Regions from separate parts of the Homo sapiens genome. Here region 1 is linked to region 2. Evidence: promoter capture Hi-C in human tissues and cell types (Jung and others, 2019). All regions are on one chromosome and are shown on one strand. Each heading gives the region's core, a stretch centred on a gene start or on the middle of the fragment in contact. The rest is flanking DNA. Distances are from core to core; before and after follow the strand shown. Region 1 overlaps NPAS3 (neuronal PAS domain protein 3). Region 2 holds the start of AKAP6 (A-kinase anchoring protein 6).

Region 1 (5,921 bases), core at 2,024-4,523, 1.4 Mb after region 2:
CTAGCCCCATGGGCTAATCAGTGTTTGGGGTCACAAGGATGAAGATTAAGAGTGTTTCATGTCAACAAAATTTTTTGGAATCATTGTAAGAGAAAGAGCATTATTTTCTAACAAGAAGAACTTGAAGGTTGCTCTCAGCCTATTAGGTAAGGGAGTAAGTATATAGATTTAAACAAGTCATTAAATCATTCCTTTTGGAATTTTCTCCATTCGTTTTTCCTTCTACCATTCTGCCAACATGAGTGCAGGGACTTTTTCCCCTTAATCTCACATTGCTCATATAAATAGACATTTGGAGAAGAGCAATATGATCCTAGAACCAGTAACTCAAGGGAAAAAAAACTAAGACCTGTATGCATTGAAAGCTGGCATTGCAAAATGCATCAGAGATACAAAGCACTGCATAGACCTCAATCACTTAGCACTTGGTCTACACACCATTAGGTATCTAGATTATTGGAAATGTCTCTGTATTTGGTAAAATATAAGCAAAACCTACATTTCAGGCGCCCACAGTTTCCCTTGAATATACCATTTAGTAAAACCCCTGACCTTTCAAGATGATAATTATCTCTCATTAGAAAAATTTTATTTGTTCTTCAACTCACTTAATTCTGATTTTGGTTGACTATTCAGAATTTCTACTAATTATAGCAACCTTTGTAAACAGTGTTGTCTGAGTACCCAATCCCTTTGTCCCAGTAAGATCTGTGCATGTCACATCAGTTACAAGTGATCTGCGATTAAAACAACAGTTCTCAAGTGAACAGTAAGTGATGACATAAAATATGAGTTTCATAACCATGCAAATATTCAAAGTTATGTGTTTTTTAAAAAAATCAAATACAGTATATGACTACTAGATTTTCAATAGGAGCAAAATTTCACCCCTTTCTCTCCTTCTCCCCAAAAAATAAACCTTTATATTCCTGGATTGAATGATTACTTTTTAAAAAACATAATTTTCACAAAGAAAACAAAGAAAACCTCTCCCTTTCTTTCTAAATATTTTTGCAGCATCTGCATAGGCTTTACCTTTCTATAAAATATAATATGAAACTTTGGTGCTTTGTATTGCAGATCATAAGCTGAGTTGCTTTCAGCTGCTTCATTTTATTTTATTTTTTTTCTTTCTCAAACATCTTTTTCTTCTCCAGATAATCAGTGCTCTCAACTGCTCTCAAATGCACGTACTTCTGTCACCATAAAGCTAGTGTAACCCCATGGAGTACACTCCCAAGCCATGCAAGAGCCATTTAAGAGTAGATATTTTTGTTTAAGTCAGATCTCAGGATAGAAGGGGACATCATCCCCAATTGACTCTTGGCTCTTTTTCATGTGCAAAAGCTAAAAAAAAGAACTGGACCAAGTTGGGTTTGGGTGTTTGTTTGGGCTTTTTGCATGTACTAAAGCAACACAGAGCTGATGCACAATAAACAAACATGCATTATGGGTTGTTTTCAGTCACTTTATAGACATATGCATTCATAAATTTTGATACGGTTGTAAGAAGCTGACTTTGATGGGACCAAACTCACAGACGAGCTTTCGATCACTGGAGCAACCGCAGTCTAACTTTATGTTGACAATGTATCAGCCCTTCTCCGTCAAGGAAAATTGTTTTTTAGTGCTTGCCTATTAGCAATCACATGCATAATATGAAATTGAGTTTTGGGGAGGACGGCCTACCATCTGTCTTTCTGATATTTTTTTTCAATGTTTCGCGCTCAAGTTCAACTCTCTGTGTATCAGAATGCTGTAAAACAGGATTCACCCATAATATGGGCACTTAGCAAGAAAAATGGGCCAGATACCAATGTAATCTTTTAACTTACTGACTTTTAAAAAGGAAAATCATTGATGCCCCAATCTGTGCATTATCTTTTGAGTGCACTTCAAATTCTGCCTGCCTCTCAAAGCCAACTTTGGTACGGCTGATTCTTCTTAAAGAACAGTTCATTAGTGTGCTTCGAGAAGTGTTAAAACACTTTTACAAAAATAAAAATTCAAAGAGAAAGTGGAAAGCAATGTGAGGTTGGAAAATGGAGCTCTAAAGGATTGGTGTGAAGAATGAAAAAGATGTATTTAGTTTCCCTTCCATGTTCCAATATGCTAAGATTTTTATCAATAATATTGTTTTTCTGCAACAATACCTGCCTCAGGGAAAATCTGCTCTGTAGCTGTCAGGATTATACTTCTCAAAATATGCTTAAGATGATTCTGTTAAATTGATAAAAAAAAAAAAAAACGTACACTCCACAATGTAGAAGGATTGCTCAAAAGAACATTCCCAAGCCTTTCACGTGTAACTGCATTTGTGCGGCAGGGCATTTATTATGCTATAAATTCCATCACTGATTTTGGCCAGTTCAGATTGATTCTGCAGTAACTGTAAGTAATGAACCTTCCAGAGCCAAAGAGGGGAGGAAAAGAAGTAGCCAATACACTTGTGGCTGTGGGAATACAAATTGTAGGGTTCATTTAGTCACAGCTTTTAGCAGATCATGCAGCCAATACCCTACAAAGCAAGAAAATATATACCCAGAAAAATCTACAGGTTCCTTGATCTGACTTCAGCAGCTACAACAGGCAAACACTATGAGAACACTTCTTGGGGAAAGTAAGTGATCTATTTTTTCCTAAGCTTTTATTTCCCAAATTTGTTCCCTCTCATTTTTCCCTCCCACCAAAGTATGGGCAAATGTCCATGCTACAAGAGCAACAAAATATGGAGCTCTCTTTTCCTAAGTTAGCCATGCCTGAAGCTTGCCTCCCACAGTTCCCAGTGCCAGGGGCTTAAGGGACCCTCAGCACAGAAGAAGCTCCCAGGGGTTGAGATGTAGCAATCCTCTGTTCAGATGGTTGTAAAGAGGAAAATCAGTTTCCCTAGAGTGGTTGATGCCTGAGCCTATTAAGAAAATAAGGTAACCAGTGATATGAAAAGCAGGAGAAACATCCTCTTGGAGGTGCCCCGCGACCCCACTGGGGTGGCGGCTAGAGAAAGAATTGGGTGAAGGAAAGAAGCTGCATTACAGACAGACAGTGATCTGTACTTCAGTAAAGCATTGCTGTCTAATATTAGAGGGCTTTTTTCCCTGATATTCTTTAAAACTGAGCACTAAGGAAATAGGTGGGGTGTGAGGGATGGAATAAAGTGTGATTGGAATCCGGGGTATCAAAAGAGACACAGCAGAGTAAGAGCCTTTGGCCAAGAGGAGGGAGGAGAGGAATATGGAAATGGATGACATTCAAGACACATTTCACCTACTAGGGAGGCCAAGGAAGTCCTCATTCCCTTCTTCCCCAGCTCCCTCTCCTCTCTGACCTCATGTTCGTGGAATGCTTAGGAGCAGGGGAAGAATAGTGGCTGGAGTCAGCCTCAGAGTGCTGGCTCTATGGCGGTAGCATGGTCAGAGGGAGACCATGGCTTCAATGGAATGTGCAGGCAATATTTTATGACAGTCCGGGAATCTGCATCCTCATCCCCATCCCACTGAATTTCCAGAAAGACAGAGGTACAAACAGGTAATCCATCTTAGAGAACAGCACAGCATCTTTACTGTCCTTAGTCCCCAAGAACAAATACCACAAAATCTTTCAAGATTCTCTCTCTCTTCTCCCTTTCCCTCTTAAAAATCATAGAATCGTAGAGCTGAAAAGCCTGTAGACATGGTGTTTGACTATTGTGAGGTACACCTGAAAGAATAAACCATCTGGGGCCTTTCTGAAGCATCTACATTTCTCGCTGGACTGTCTGAAGTTATTTGGGGTAAATGCCATGACGTGTCTCATAGACGAGACCATGGACACAGCAGGACAAATCTTTAGATAGGGACAGTGAGAGTTAGCCAAATGGAGACACATATTGTTGTTTTGGGTAACTCAGTAGGATGCAGAGCCCTGGCCTTAGGATCAACAGATGTAGGTTTTAGTCCTCGTTTTGCCACTTGATATATATTTGACTTTGGGGAACTCATTTAGCTTGCCTAAGTCTGTTGAAAGAGGATAATAGTACCTCTCCTGAAACATCGTAGAGTTATTATGAGGTTAATGTAAGATAATATGAGTGAAAATATTCTGTAAACTCTAAGTGACTGTGAATACCCAATATTATCTTTATTGGATTATAACTGTAAAATGTAGGGTTTTAGCATTTCAGAATATATTGGCTTAGCTTATGTTTATCACAAGTAATTGACCTCCTCATTTTATTTCTATTATTGGTACATTTATTTTTGTGAAGAAAAGCCACTTTTAACAGAAGCCTTCAGATTACCCATTTTATTTCCAAAGAGGGCAAAGGCAGAAGGTATGTTCATAAAATAAAAGTAGGAAAATAGCTGAAAGTTACTACCATGACGCCATCCCTGCCGTGGGGTCTGTGAATTGCCTCGGGGGAAAGGATTATATAGGAGTGGCTATGAATCATGGCTGATGTGATTAGGCTGCACTCTAGACCGGGTGGGCGTGTGGGCCTTTCAGGACTCCTTGTCATTGTTGCTCACTTAGGTTAATGTTAAGATTAGCTGTCTGGTGTTATTTAATAATATTACTGTCTTAGGCCATTCTATGTTGCTATGAAAGAATACCAGAGGCTGGGTATTTTATGAGGGAAAGAGGCTTATTTGGCTCACGGTTTTGCAGGCTATCTAGGAAGCATGACACCTGTATCTGTTCAACTTCTGGTGAGACATCAGGCTGCTTCCACTCGTGGCAGAAGGGAAAGGGAAGCTGGCAGGTGCGGTGATGCCATGGAAAGAGAGGAAGCAAGCAAGACAGTGGGAGGTGCCAGGTCTTTAACAACCAGCTCTCCTGGGATCTAACAGAGTGAGAACTCACTCACCCCTGAGGGAGACCATTCATCTATTCATGAGGGTTCTGCCCCCATGACCCAAACACCTCCCACTAGGTCCCACCTCCAACATTGAGGATCTAATTTCAACATGAAGTTTGGTGAGGGCAAATACCCAAACCATAGCAATTATCCAACTTTGAGTTTGATTTCTTTTATTAGTGATTGAAAGCTTTATGTATCCCTCTTTGCATTGGAATAAAGTAATCATTTATCAGAGTCAGTAATGAGTAATACAGAGACCATAAGTTTCTTGAGGGAGAAAGGGTAAGAGGGCCCAGATGAGCCAAACCCACCTACTACATAGTGAATGCCCTGGACAATTTCTGGAATCCCAGTTGGGTGGATTCTTGCAGTACCCAGTTGTATTCACGAAGTAACTAACCCCCAAGAAGAATCTTACTAATATGTTTTCTAAAGGGAATCTTATATTGAAAGGTTTTTGAAGTAAAAGGGAGAACCAGACAGATTGAGACTGCTCAGATGGATCAAAATAGCAATTGGGAGTGGCAAGAGATGCAAGGCGGTCTGTGAAAGAGAGCACTGAGCTTGGAGGAATGTCAGAATTATATTTTAGCTGTGTAATCATAACCAAACACTTCATCTCTCTTAGCCTCCAGCTCCTTATTTACAGAAAGGAGATACTAATATGTGCTCTACCTACCTTAGAGGCTATTGTAAGGATTAAAAAGAAAGAAAGGAAGTTGAGAACTTTGTGAGCTTTCATGCAGTAGATAGATGTAGCATCTAAGCAGTCAGTCATCCTGTAGTCTGGTCCTACGAGGTACACAGAGAAATAAAGGATGCATTCTGTGCCATCTGAAGGAAAACAGAGAGTCAGAGACAAAGGCAGAGACAGCAAGAGAGCAATCCCTGGTAGTACATACCTAGGTGCTGATTGGGTAGCCGAGACAAAAGTAGGAATTCAAAGGGAGGAGGACAGCACTGGGCTAAAGTATCCAAGAAGAGGAAAAGGGATTTGATATCACCCTTGAAGAATGAATATTATTTCCACTGATGGTGGGGCATGGGGAAGGAATTCTTGGTCTGAAAGGTGATGTGAGAAAAG
Region 2 (5,917 bases), core at 2,617-5,116:
GCATACTATATTTCTACAGGAGAGTCTCAATGCATATTAGCAGATTGAAAACTCTTAGAAAATCTGCAACCTATTTAATAAATGCTGATGGGAAAACTGGCTAGCTACATGCAGAAAACAGAAACCGGACCCCTTTCTTATACCTTATACAAAAATGAATTCAAGATGAATTAAAGACTTAAAACCATGAAAACCCTAGAAGAAAACCTAGGCAATACCATTCAGGACACAGGCATGGGCAAAGACTTACTGATTAAAGCACCAAAAGCAATTGCAACGAAAGCCAAAATTGATAAATGGGATCTAATCAAACTAAAGAGCTTCTGCACAGCAAAAGAAACTATCATCAGAGTGAACAGGCAACCTACAGAATGGGAGAAAATGTTTGCAGTCTACCCATCTGACAAAGGTCTAATATCCAGAATCTATAAGGGACTTAAACAAATTTACAAGAATAAAACAACCTCATCAAAAAGTGGGCAAAGGATATGAACAGACACTTCTCAAAAGAAGACATTTATGTGGCCAAAAAACATATGAAAGAAAAGCTCATCATCACTGGTCATTAGAGAAGTGCAAATCAAAACCACAATGAGATACCACCTCACGCCAGTTAGAATGGCAATTATTAAAAAGTCAGGAAACAACACATGCTGGAGAGCCTGTGGAGAAATAGGAACGCTTTTACATTGTTTTGGGGAGTGTAGATTAGTTCAACCATTGTGGAAGACAGTGTGGCGATTCCTCAAGGATCTAGAACCAGAAATAGTATTTGACCTAGCAATCCCATTACTGGGTATATACCCAAAGGATTATAAATCATTCTACTATAAAGACACATGCACATGTATGTTTATTGCAGCACTATTTACAATAGCAAAGACTTGGAACCAACCCAAATGCCCATCGATGATAGTCTGGATAAAGAAAATGTTGCACATGTACACCATGGAATACTATGCAGCCATAAAAAAGAATGAAGCTGGAAGCCATCATTCTCATCAGACTAACACAGGAACAGGAAATCAAACACTGCATGTTATCACTCATAAATGGGATTTGAACAATGAGACCACATGGACACAGGGAGGGGAACACCATACACCAGGGCCCTTCGGGGGGTTGTGGGCAAGGTGAGGGAGAGCATTAGGACAAATAGCGAATTCATGCAGGGCTTACAGCCTAGATGATGGGTTGATAGGTGCAGCAAACCACCATGGCACATGTATACCTATGTAACAAACCTGCATGTTCTGCACATGTATCCCAGGACTTAAAGTAATATAAAATAAAAAAAGAAAGTCTGCAATAAAGGAACATGTTTTTAACACTGTCACTTTATCATAAATAATGATATATAATATAATCTTGTTAGAAAATTTATATTTTATTAAATTATAATTTTATCTATAAATGGATAATTTGTTCAGAATAAACTACCCCAAAATCTTGGTGGTGTTTGTTTCTCACTCATTGCAGCCCAGTGTAGGTCAATAGGTAGTTGGGAGAGGATGGTTGAGCTCCATGCAGTCATTCAGGGACCCAGGCTCCATCCACAATGTGTGGCCATTATCTTTCTGGGCTTCAGAGTTCCACTGGATTCTTTGCATCCAGCTAGCAGGACAGGAAAACATGAAGAAGAGACACTTGGTCTTAGCCACCTTTGGAGTTGATGGTTTCCACTTCTACTTCCGTTTCATTGGTGAGTGCCATTTTGTGGGCAAGCAATTTAGCTAGTCCAGGTTGCTAAAAGTTTGACCTGGCCTCAGGTTTGATGAGCCATCCATTTCTTCCCATCAAATGATTGACTTGCTTCTGGCAAAAAAGATTAACAAGATTCTTACCATCTTGAGAAGCCATATTCAAATCTGGAACACCTGCTCCCACCCTGTCCTCTCCTCTTTATAGCATGTGGATTTCAGCTCTGGAAAGACTAATCTTGTTCTGTAATAGGTCCATGTCTCTTTATCTTCTCCAGAGACTGAAGGGTTCTTCAGAGGTATCTTAAAGAGTCAGCTTACAGCAAATGAGGTTGGAGGCAGTGGTTGAGAATGGCTCATCAGTCTGGGCTCTGGGCTTCTTATCTTGCCTCAACCAAGGCAGTCCAGCTTTGATCTGTATCATTAAAAGAAAGGTTATATTACTAATGAAAAACCTGAAAACTATGGTTATTAGCTAAATCAATCATCTCTGCAGATGAAAAACTTGAGGCCCCAAGAAGTTAATCAATTGGCCTGATATCACACAGATGCTCTAGGAGGACCTGACATTTACAGTTGGGTTTCCTGACTCTCAGATCTGTACTCTTTGTACTGGGGTAGCTGCCTGCTACTTCTCCCCTTGTGTGTGGCATGTGGTCTGAGGTCTAAGATAAAGGGAGGGAGTCAGGCTCTGCTGATGCCACAAAGGACCTAAGCAGGCAGATTCACCTCCTGCTTTTGGTCTCTTAATTCCTCTCTAGATGAAGCAAGAACAAGTCTGTCTTCCCATCTAGGGCAGGGTTGCTCTGTGCGAGGCTGATGGTGCACGCTGCTGGGATATTGGCACTTCTCAGGCATTTTATTAGCTCCTGTTTACAGAGACACTGCCTGAATTCCTTCTGCCACTCATCCCACACCGCCTATGCTGGTGGTTAACAGTGCCATTTTAAAATCTCAAGCAGGAGGAGACAACATAATTGTCTCATGTTTTAAGCTTTTGGAATGTTGTTCTTTTTCAGAGTTGTGAAGACGGAGTGGATACAGGTCAACTTGATTCTGCTTTTCTCTATCAATGGCCTGCAAATATTAAATATGCAAAACATAGGCTGCTCTGTCCATATCTCCTTCTCCCCAGTTCTCACCACATGACGTTGATTTCTGCTCAGGACTGGAAAGAAGTGATTGCTTTAGATTTGCTTTTCTTTTACCAACTGGAGAAATGCCTTACCGTGTCTTGTTTAAATGTGGCTTTTCACACAGTTCCAGCTTTTGGGGTTGGGGAGGGGCACAAATAATCTGTGTGGTAGGCAGTTTTATTGTTCAGAAAAGAAGAAAACAGACCCCAATGTTTGGAATGCCAACGATTTAGGAAGTTTCTAGCAGGTCTGCTACTTGTTCCAACCACTAGGTTTGATCCCAGAAAAGACTCACATGCGTTTTGGCCATGAGAAGGAGGGGTTCCCTGCAGGCCAAAGGAAGGGTCAGTAGAAGTTGAGGGTGGTGTGTTGTGCCCCTCTAGATTCCAAACTTCCCTTTGCTGCCTATCTGATGACCAGGTGAAAGCTGGGTTTATTCTGCATGGGAAGGTTCTGTGGGTTGGTGTTCATCAGGGAAAATAACCAGGACAGACTTCATTGGCCAAGGGTTTGCCCATGTTTTGAGAATTAAAACTTGTTTACTTGAGAGTTAGAGTCATTTGGTCAGCTGTTTATATTCCATTTTTAATTATTTTTGTGCTCGCTGTTTTGTTCTTTTGGTCTTTGACAGATGAGCAAAAATTCTTTTTAATAACTTTTAAAAAGCTATCCCAGTGCTGACCAGGGAGGAAAAAGTGATCAAATTGTCTAATAAGGAAACATTGTACATTTCAGTTTTTATTTGCTTAGTACTAATTCTATTTTCTCCTCCCACCTTTTTTTTCTAAATGTATAACAACAAAGGGGGAGATAATTTTTGTTTTTTCCAAAATGCTTTCAGGGAAATCCCTTTTAAACCTATGGATTTTAGTCCAATGAGGAATCCTCTTCCTTTGGTCTAAATTTTGCATATCGTCTGTTTCTTACAGGGCTTCCGTATTGTCTCAGGCTCCACTGGAAATGCAGCAAGGATTCCTAGCACATCCCAGTTGCCATAGCAACAGCAGTCTTTCCCATAATGAGCTGCATCATCTGAACTGATGTCACAGCATCATGCAGCAGGTCAAACAAGGCATCTCCTAGTATTGCATCCTACAGATGTGCTGTAAACATCAAAAGAAGACGGTGGGATCAGGAGATGGTGAGTGTTAAATGTCTGGGCCTTAATTGCACGGCTGTTTTGTTGGTTAGTCGGTGTCTGCTAAGGCGGAGATTGGGGGATGTTGTCTCTGCTTAAAATGGACTGGGGAAAGAAGGGCTGTTTTACCTAAATCGTTTTTCAGGCTGCCGGGTTAAGACAAAGGCCTGTAAGAGTCATATAGGAATTAAAATATGTAGAATTATTCTTGCTCCAGCTCTGTCTGTTATTTTTAAGTGTTCTTACAGAATTTTTCATAAACATAAGATGATTTTTCAATTGCAAAACCCCAGATAAGCTTTAAAATGAGTAGTTAACAGTATTTAAGCATTGTAAAAATATAGATTTCTTTTTGGGAGGCAGAGCTAATTGGCCCCCTCTTTGCTCTTGTGAATTATGAAATATTCAGTGATTTGCAGTATGAAATTCATTATTTACCTCGGTTGGGTTTCAGTTTCTTCATGGCAAGGAACAAATGCTGAATAAGCATTTGACATAACCCTGATGTGAAAGGGGATCTCTTGCATATTCAAGACAGAATTTATTAAAAGCATAAAAACCTAAACCAAATGAAATTATTTGAGCCTTTTGATCTATATGGTAGTTCTTCAACCCATGTCCTTCAGAGTTAGTTGAAAGACTGCCACATATTTTTCCATCTCTAGCTAGTCTCTGAAATAGCTGGAGTTGTTTGCAGGCTGACTTGTAACTGAGAAAGGAACAAGTCTCCTCTCTGCGGCAGTTGCAGTGAAGGGTAACCCTGGGAGAGCCTCTGAAGTGGCAGTGGTGTTGCCATCCCTTGCTTAACTTTAACAAAAATCTGGGTATGATGAATAAATATCAGGGTCCTCAGTGGTTGTAGGGATTACAGACCTCTGGACTCAGTCATAACCTCAACTCAATTCCAAAACTCTAAACACGTATCATTTTCATTTCAACTCCTAGCTCTGTTTTTAGGCATCTTTATTATTATTATTATTTTCTAAAAAATTAGTCTGACAGTGTCAGATAAGGAGCAGAATGTTGCCTTTTGTTTTGGGAAATGAAATGGATTTCCCTGGTACAGCTGATTGCTACTAGGGGAGAGAAAGGAGGAGGCACATGTCAGTTCAATTGATCAATATGTCCACTTAGAATCAGGGAGTGGTCTTGTGGCTTAATGCTGCCAAATTGATAGTTTTTACTCAAAAAGTCTTACACGAAAGAATGGCAACCATTGAATTCCTCTTCTTTTAGTCTGTTTATTGGGGCTAAAGAGATATATCATGGAAAGCAGGAAAAGCAATACCTTTAGCTAGCTTGGAGTGATTTTTTTTTTTTTTTTTTTTTTTTTTTTTTGCACAGAGTTAAGTATGCTAGTCCCATTAGGCACCAGCCAGAGGAAAGGCCTCAGGTTTTAATTTGTTTGTTTATACCACATCACGCACATGCTTGCTACTCTCAGTCCTTTAAGCTTATGTTTCTGACATGCAGCTGTATAGGATGGGAGAGGTCAGCTCAGCCTGGCTTTATCGCAAGCACTTAGAAGCATGAATTGTTCATTGCCTGCTTTTTTATGTCATATAATGTGAGCAGAAAGCTCTGCTGGGACTGCTGGGTGTGAACACATCTAAGTCGAAAGCTCTAAGGTGACAGGGAAGAGTGCTAGATGGTGATGGGGGAAGGGAAAGTATGTCTTGTAGCTAGATTATAAATCTGGATAAAATCACTTAGTGCCTTTTAGAATTTTCTTAAAGTATTATTTCTGAAGAAGAGCAATGAAGAAAGACTTGTTTGGTAACATGAATTTCTAGGAGTAAAAAAAAGCAAAAGGCAGCATTGTAATGAGTTTTCTGTTTGCTTAATTCTTGTCTCTTTTGTTTAAAGTGCTCTTCAGCTGCTTCATCATGGTTGATTTGTTCAATTACTGGAAGTCACAAAAGCTAGATTCCTTAAGGGCAGTG

The links. The method cuts DNA at HindIII sites, captures the fragments that hold promoters and counts their contacts. A contact is called where the count stands out against the background at its distance.
Region 1: a fragment that was not itself captured here is called in contact with the fragment with the promoter of AKAP6 in region 2 in 1 of the 25 tissues and cell types used here (mesenchymal stem cells).

Annotation. Positions count from the first base shown.
Region 1 is chr14:33,751,126-33,757,046 of GRCh38, forward strand. All of the region lies in intron 7 of NPAS3 (neuronal PAS domain protein 3), which reads left to right. Among named protein-coding and RNA genes, the nearest start is that of SNORA89, 45 kb to the left of the region's middle. The HindIII fragment of the contact is 4,510 bases long and covers 1,019-5,528 here.
Region 2 is chr14:32,325,432-32,331,348 of GRCh38, forward strand. AKAP6 (A-kinase anchoring protein 6) reads left to right here and starts at 3,867. Exons shown (of 14, transcript NM_004274.5): 1 at 3,867-3,977. RefSeq lists an enhancer at 5,832-5,917. The HindIII fragment of the contact is 5,497 bases long and covers 1-4,849 here.